2 separate regions of the Homo sapiens genome follow, and region 1 is linked to region 2. Evidence: promoter capture Hi-C in 16 types of primary human blood cells and fetal thymus (Javierre and others, 2016). All regions are on one chromosome and are shown on one strand. The core of a region is centred on a gene start or on the middle of the fragment in contact, and the rest is flanking DNA. Distances in the headings are between cores, read along the strand shown.

Evidence for each region. Contacts are between HindIII fragments. The CHiCAGO score rates a contact against its expected background, and 5 or more counts as called.
Region 1: a fragment that was not itself captured here is called in contact with the fragment with the promoter of BAG3 in region 2 in 1 of 17 cell types (non-activated CD4 T cells); the score reaches 5.2 in non-activated CD4 T cells.

Annotation. Positions count from the first base shown.
Region 1 is chr10:119,184,233-119,187,636 of GRCh38, forward strand. No RefSeq gene overlaps it. Among named protein-coding and RNA genes, the nearest start is that of PRDX3, 7.1 kb to the left of the region's middle. The HindIII fragment of the contact is 3,528 bases long and covers 1-3,294 here.
Region 2 is chr10:119,649,321-119,652,789 of GRCh38, forward strand. It overlaps BAG3 (BAG cochaperone 3), which reads left to right and starts at 2,060. Exons shown (of 4, transcript NM_004281.4): 1 at 2,060-2,535. The coding sequence starts at 2,356. RefSeq lists enhancers at 1,198-2,152, 1,533-1,612 and a silencer at 1,813-2,112. The HindIII fragment of the contact is 5,264 bases long and covers 1-2,997 here.

The DNA.
Region 1 (3,404 bases), core at 281-2,780, 470 kb before region 2:
AAGCGACAGAGCAGAGTGGAGTTCCCTTAGAATTTCACCTCACTCATCCTGGTTTCAGTTTTAAAGCTCAGATGCATTAGTTAGTGCCAGCTCATAGGCAGGGTTAGGCTTCAAGGTAACATTACTTGAGGGCCTCATAATTGGCTCTGAAAGCAATTCTTTTTTTTTTTTTTTTTTGAGACGGAGTTTTGCTCTTGTTGCCCAGGCTAAAGTGCAATGGTGCGATCTCGGCTCACTGCAACCTCTGCCTCCCAGGTTCAAGTGATTCTCCTACCTCAGCCTCCTGAGTAGCTGGGATTACAGGCATGCACCACCACGCCCAGCTAATTTTGTGTTTTTAGCGGAGATGGGGTTTTGCCATGTTGGTCAGGCTGGTCTCGAACTCCTGACCTCAGGTGATTGGCCCGCAGGTGATCGGCCCGCTTCGGCCTCCCAAAGTGCTGGGATTACAGGTGTGAGCCACCGTGCCTGGCTGCTTCAAGGTAACATTACTTTCCGTCTTCCATGTAGCCCCATTCACCTGCGGCTGCCTTCAGTTAGATTTCCTGCATGATTCCTGCCCATTTTAGCCTCTGAAGTAATCTGTTTCCTGTCCTATTAGGTACCAAATAGAGAGCCCTCTGGTATTGGATCAATTAACAATGTGATTTTTTTTTTTTAGAATCTTGCTGTGTTGCCCAGGCTGGAGTGCAGTGGTGCAATCTCGGCTCACTGCAACCTCTGCCTCCTGGGTTCAAGAGATTCTTCTGCCTCAGCCTCCTGAGTAGCTGGGATTACAGGTGCCCACAACCACAACTAGCTAATTTTTGTATTTTTAGTAGAGACCAGGTTTTGCCATGTTGGCCAGGCTGGTCTTGGACTCCGGACCTCAAGTGATCCTCTCGCCTCGGCCTCCCAAAGTGCTGGGATTACAGGCATGAGCCACCGTCCCTAGCCAACAATGTGATTTTAATCATTAATAAACATGTACTGGAGAGGATCACTTAGACCCTGCTGCCGAGGAACTGTGTGTGTATCCAAGGAATACTGATAAAATCATTAAAAAAAAAACCCAGTCCAAGATTCAGCATTTTAAGAGGCATGAAAGAGGCATAATGGTTGAGTGTGGACAGCTGAGATTGACACACCAGCTCTGCTAGCTGCAGGCACGTGGCCTTGGGCAAGTTACTTAGCACATTTTCCCATCTGTAAAATTGAAATGATGTTAGTGCTTACCCCAAGGGCTTTTGTGAGGAATAAATGAGTTCATATTTTAAAGGCATTAGCACAGTCAGCAGGCACATAGTGTTCGTTATATTAAATAAAAGAGAGGTGCAAGTGAAGTGCTATCATGGTTTAGAGAAAGGGGCCAAGAAGGGCTTCACAGAGAAATCATCTATCCTGCTGCTTGGGGAAGGTGAAGGGGAAGATGGCAGGTGGAAGTGACTAGTGACCTTTGTCCCTTTGGTTTACTGTTATCTTCAGTGACCACACTATGGGGCTACGCTCTGGGTTGAATGCAGTATCTCTATTCCGTCTGCACAACCCTATGACACAGGTGCTTTTTCGGTTTGTTTTTTGTTTTGTTTTGTTTTGTTTTGTTTTAGAGTCTTGCTCTGTCACTCAGGCTGAAGTGCAATGGCATGATCTCAGCTCACAGCAAACTCCACTCCTGGGTTCAAGTGATTCTCCTGCCTCAGCCTCCCAAGTAGCTGGGATTACAGGTGCACACCACCACACCTGGCTAATTTTTGTATTTTTAGTAGAGATGGGGTTTCATCATGTTGGCCAGGTTGGTCTCGAACTCCTGACCTCAAGTGATCCGCCTGCCTCGGCCTCCCCAGGTGTAGGGATTACAGGTGTGAGCCATCACACCCAGCCACAGGTACTGTTTTTAATTCATCATCCCCATTTCCAAGGTGAGGAGACTGATGCTTGGGAAGGTTTAGTAATTTGTCCAAAGTCCCACAACTGGAAAGGGAAGGAGCCAGGATTTAAACCTTGAAAGCTGACTGCAGAGCCCCCATTCCTTTTCATTTTTATTGTTTTTTGTTTGTTTGTTTGTTTTTGAGACAGGGTCTCTCTCTGTCATCCAGGCTGGAGTGCAATGGCACAACCATGGCTCACTGCAGCCTCAACCTCCTGGGCTCAAACAATCCTCCCACCTCAGCCTCCCAAGGAGCTGGGACCACAAGTGTGTATCACCAAGCCCAGCTAATTTTGTTAGTTTTTGTAGAGAAGGGTCTTCCTATGTTGTCTAGGTTGGTCTCAAACTCCTGGGCTCAAGCAGTCCTCCTGCCTTGGCCTCCCAAAATGTTGGGATTACCGGTGTGAGGCCAGAGCCCCAACTCTTTTTTTTTTTTTTTTTTTGAGATGGAGTCTCGCCCTGTCGCCCAGGCTGGAGTGCGGTGGCGCAATCTCAGCTCACTGCAAGCTCCGCCTCCCGGGTTCACGCCATTCTCCTGCCTCAGCCTCCCGAGTAGCTGGGACTACAGGCGCCCGCCACCACACCTGGCTAATTTTTTTGTATTTTTAGTAGAGATGGGGTTTCACCGTGTTAGCCAGGATGGTCTCCATCTCCTGACCTCGTGATCCACTCACCTTGGACTCCCAAAGTGCTGGTATTACAGGCGTGAGCCACCGTGCCTGGCCAAGTGCCCCAACTCTTAAAGCAATATTGTATGACCTCCTACAGTATTTGTTGGAGCATAATGTGCTTGATGGGACATAATAGGAGATGGTACTATAAATGTGGGCTGTGTGAGGACATGAAGGAGCACTGACCATCTGTCCTTTAGTGAAATATCTCAAGTACTCCACTCCCAGGCACCAGGCCTCACTGTGGATTCTGTCCATTGATGCGGTACGCTGTGCTCTTTTGCCTAAGCATTTCTAATAGGTTCCGCCCCTGCAATTGATGTTCACCACCTTGGGGCCCACTCTACTCTCAGCCTTCTTTTTTTTTTTCTGACGGAGTCTCACTCTGTCACCCAGGCTGGAGTGCAGTGGTACCATCTCGGCTCACTGCAACTTCTGTCTCCCAGGTTCAAGCAATTCTCCTGCTTCAGCCTCCTGCGTAGCTGGGATAACAGTGCCCGCCACCACGCCTGGCAAATTTTTTTGTATTTTTAGTAAAGACAGGGTTTTCAATGTGTTTCAGCACATGGCCAGGCTGGTCTTGAACTCTTGACTTCAAATGATCTGCCCGCCTTGGCCTCCCAAAGTGCTGGGATTACAGGTATGAGCCACTGTGTTCGGGCGACTCTCAGCCTTCCTTTCCTTCTCTGGGGTCTGTCTGTTCCTGTCTTCCTGCCAAGCTTGTGAAAGGAAGGCACCCACTTATTTGTGACAACGAAAAATGTTTCCAGATGTTGCCAAATGTCCCCTGGGGACAAGAGAACCCCCAGAGGAAACCACTGCTCTAA
Region 2 (3,469 bases), core at 810-3,309:
GCAGTGGCATGATCTTGGCTCACTGCAACCTCCGCCTCCTGGGTTCAAGCAGTTCTGCCTCGGCCTCCCGAGTAGCTGGATTACAGGCATGTGCCACACGTCCAGCTAATTTTTGTATTTTTAGTAGAGTTGGGGTTTCACCATGTTGGCCAGGCTGGTCTCAAATTTCTGATCTCAAGTGATCCGCCGCTTGGCCTCCCAAAGTGCTGGGATTACAGGCGTGAGCCACCATGCCCCGCCCCTGCATACTTTGAATCTCCCAAAACTACCAATAGCCTACTCTTGACGGAAAGCCTTGCCAATAACATGAACAGTCAATTAACACATATGTTGTATATGTATTATATGTATTCGTGCAATAAAGTAAGCTAGAGAAAAGAACATGTTAAGAAAATCATAAGGAAGAGATTTTACATTTACATAAGGAAGAGTAGTACACTTACTACTCATTTAGTGGACGTGATCATCATAAACGTCATCATCCTCATTATCTTCACGTGGAGGCTGAGGAGGGGAAGGAAGAGGAAGGGTTGATTCTCCTGTCAAGGGGTGGCAGAGACAGAAGAGGTGGAGGAGGTGGAAGGGGAGACTGGAGAGGCAAGCACATCGGTGTAACTTTTATTGAAAAAAAATCCATGTACAAGTGGACCTGCTCAATTCAAACCCATGTTAAGGGTCAACTGTACAGTAATCTGAAGTATGTAACCTGATGTTACATTTCTCTCAATCATTTCTCTCTTTCTTTCTCTCTCTTTCTTTTAAAGAGATAGGGTCTTGCTCTGTCGCTTAGGTTGGCATGAAGAGCAAAATCATAGCTCATGGCAGCTTCAAACTCCTGGGCTCAAATGAGCCTCCCACCTCAGCCTCCTGAGTAGCTGGGACTACAGGCATAAGCCACTGCACCTGGCTTATTTTTTGTTTATGCAGAGATGGGGGTCTTACTGTGTTGTCCAGGCTGGTCTCAAACTCCTGGACTCAAGAGGTCCTCCAGTCTTGACTTTCCAAAGTGCTGGCATTATAGGCATGAGCCATGGTGGCAAGCCCTCATCAGTTATTTTTCTATGATTCTGTCTCTCTGTCCCCTCCTTACAAGGAAAGTAATTTTGAAACAACCAATCCAGTCTTGGTTCTTTGTTTCTGCTTTCTTCAGCCCTTCTCTGTCTATAAAACCAACCTCTTCTGCTCAGCTCATGGGAGCACTTATTCTAATTTAATGGAGATGTTGCCCAATTTCTAGAATCACAAATAAGATCTTTAACAATAAAAGTTAAAAAATGAAAATCAACAACAACAACAACAAAAAAGATCTTTAAATGTGTTGTAATTTTCTCCTTTGACAGGTTACAAGTGCAATTGAATAAACCAAACAAAAAATGTCATGGTTATTCGGTCTTTACTTCCCAAATCAGGGTCAAGATATAAGATAGCAAGAACCAATCTCTACCATAAAAAAGATCCAGACCCAAGAAAATGTGATTTATCTTTAAAGCTGCAACGAAACTTTCTTTTTAGTCTAGGAGACTAAAAGCCATCAGTTGATACAATCTCTTTTTTTCTTGAAGTTTCCAAAGGAAGGCAGGTGAGTTTGCACTGACTTCCATTTTCTCCCTGGCTTCCTTCCGGTGTCAGATGAGAGTCCCCGCGCTCCTCCCGGACAGCCCTCAGGGTCCTCGGCTATCATATATGGGGGAGGGGGTGGAGGTGGGCGAGATGGTTTTGTTTGTACAGGAAGGACGGGCGGCAGGCACGGGGAGCACGGGCTCCGGCCCCGGGAACACTCACTCGGCGCAAAGGAGAGGGAGAGAGCGACTATGAAAGCCGAAACCCGCCCGGGGCGCACGGAGGACGGCCCCAGTCCAGCTCGTCCGGCTTCCCACCCGCAGGCGGACCCCGAAGCCGCGCCCGCGCCCGCCCGCGGCGACTCCGGCCCGGGCACGCGCACGAGTCGGAAGGGGGAGGGGCGGGAGGAGGTGGGGGAGGGGCGAGCGGGCCGAGGCCCCGCCCCCGCTCCTCTGCCCCGCCCGCCGCGATTATAGCCGATGACTCAGGGCGGAGCTCCGCATCCAACCCCGGGCCGCGGCCAACTTCTCTGGACTGGACCAGAAGTTTCTAGCCGGCCAGTTGCTACCTCCCTTTATCTCCTCCTTCCCCTCTGGCAGCGAGGAGGCTATTTCCAGACACTTCCACCCCTCTCTGGCCACGTCACCCCCGCCTTTAATTCATAAAGGTGCCCGGCGCCGGCTTCCCGGACACGTCGGCGGCGGAGAGGGGCCCACGGCGGCGGCCCGGCCAGAGACTCGGCGCCCGGAGCCAGCGCCCCGCACCCGCGCCCCAGCGGGCAGACCCCAACCCAGCATGAGCGCCGCCACCCACTCGCCCATGATGCAGGTGGCGTCCGGCAACGGTGACCGCGACCCTTTGCCCCCCGGATGGGAGATCAAGATCGACCCGCAGACCGGCTGGCCCTTCTTCGTGGACCACAACAGCCGCACCACTACGTGGAACGACCCGCGCGTGCCCTCTGAGGGCCCCAAGGTGAGCCGGGCCCGCGGCCCGCCCTGGTCGGTGGCGCCACCTCGACGGCAGGCGGCGGGGAGTGGGCTGGGCCGGGGGGACGCGAGGCGGCGGGGCCCGGGGGTCGGCGAAGGCCCCTCGCGGGCGGACACCGGCTCCGCGCCCCGCCACACACTCCCGCTGCGCCCGGACGAGTCCCCGCTCCGGACCCGCCCTTGACAGGCGTCGGGGCGAAAGGAGGCCCCGGGATTCGGTGGCCCGGGAAGCGACCCCGCAGTGGCTCCGGTGCCGTCCACGGCTCGACTCCAGGGCGGAAGGCCGGGTGTCCAGCGCTGGCCTCGCGCTCTAGGGCTGGGAGAGGGGCGGCCGGCCTGGTCAGCTCCGGAGGCCCCGGCCCACCGTGGCCCCTGCTGCCCGCTCGGCCTCCGGGCCCGGGACCCGCGGCGCACCCTGCTGACCGCGGACTCGAGGGGGACACTCGCAAGCTTGGATGGTGGTTTTGGGGGGAATTTTACCGCTCAAGTTCTCCAACTTGGTTGAGGGGTATCTTGGCTACTGTCCCATGTTAGGCACCCAATGACTCTGGAGGCTGGTGTCAAAACATTCATATATATATGTGTGTGTGTGTATTTTAAATTAAAATTGTATTATTGTTTGAAAGTGCTTTCAATATGAACGTATCCTAGTATGATTTGTAAAATAAAAAACAGGGTGTGCTTCTCCCCAGCAGTTTCTAGAGATCTAGACTAGAGATCTGAGACTGTCTTACAGTTGGCCATTGCCTTACCACATTGCCTCACACTGGAGAGAAAGAGAATGATACGTGTATATTTATAATGGCATTCGCTTCCTGCCTTGTTATGGTATTAAAATACTTAGGATTTGTTACCAGTACACAAATAACTGACTAATGATACTCTTGTGAATACAGCAGAAGTATGTCTCATTTACATAC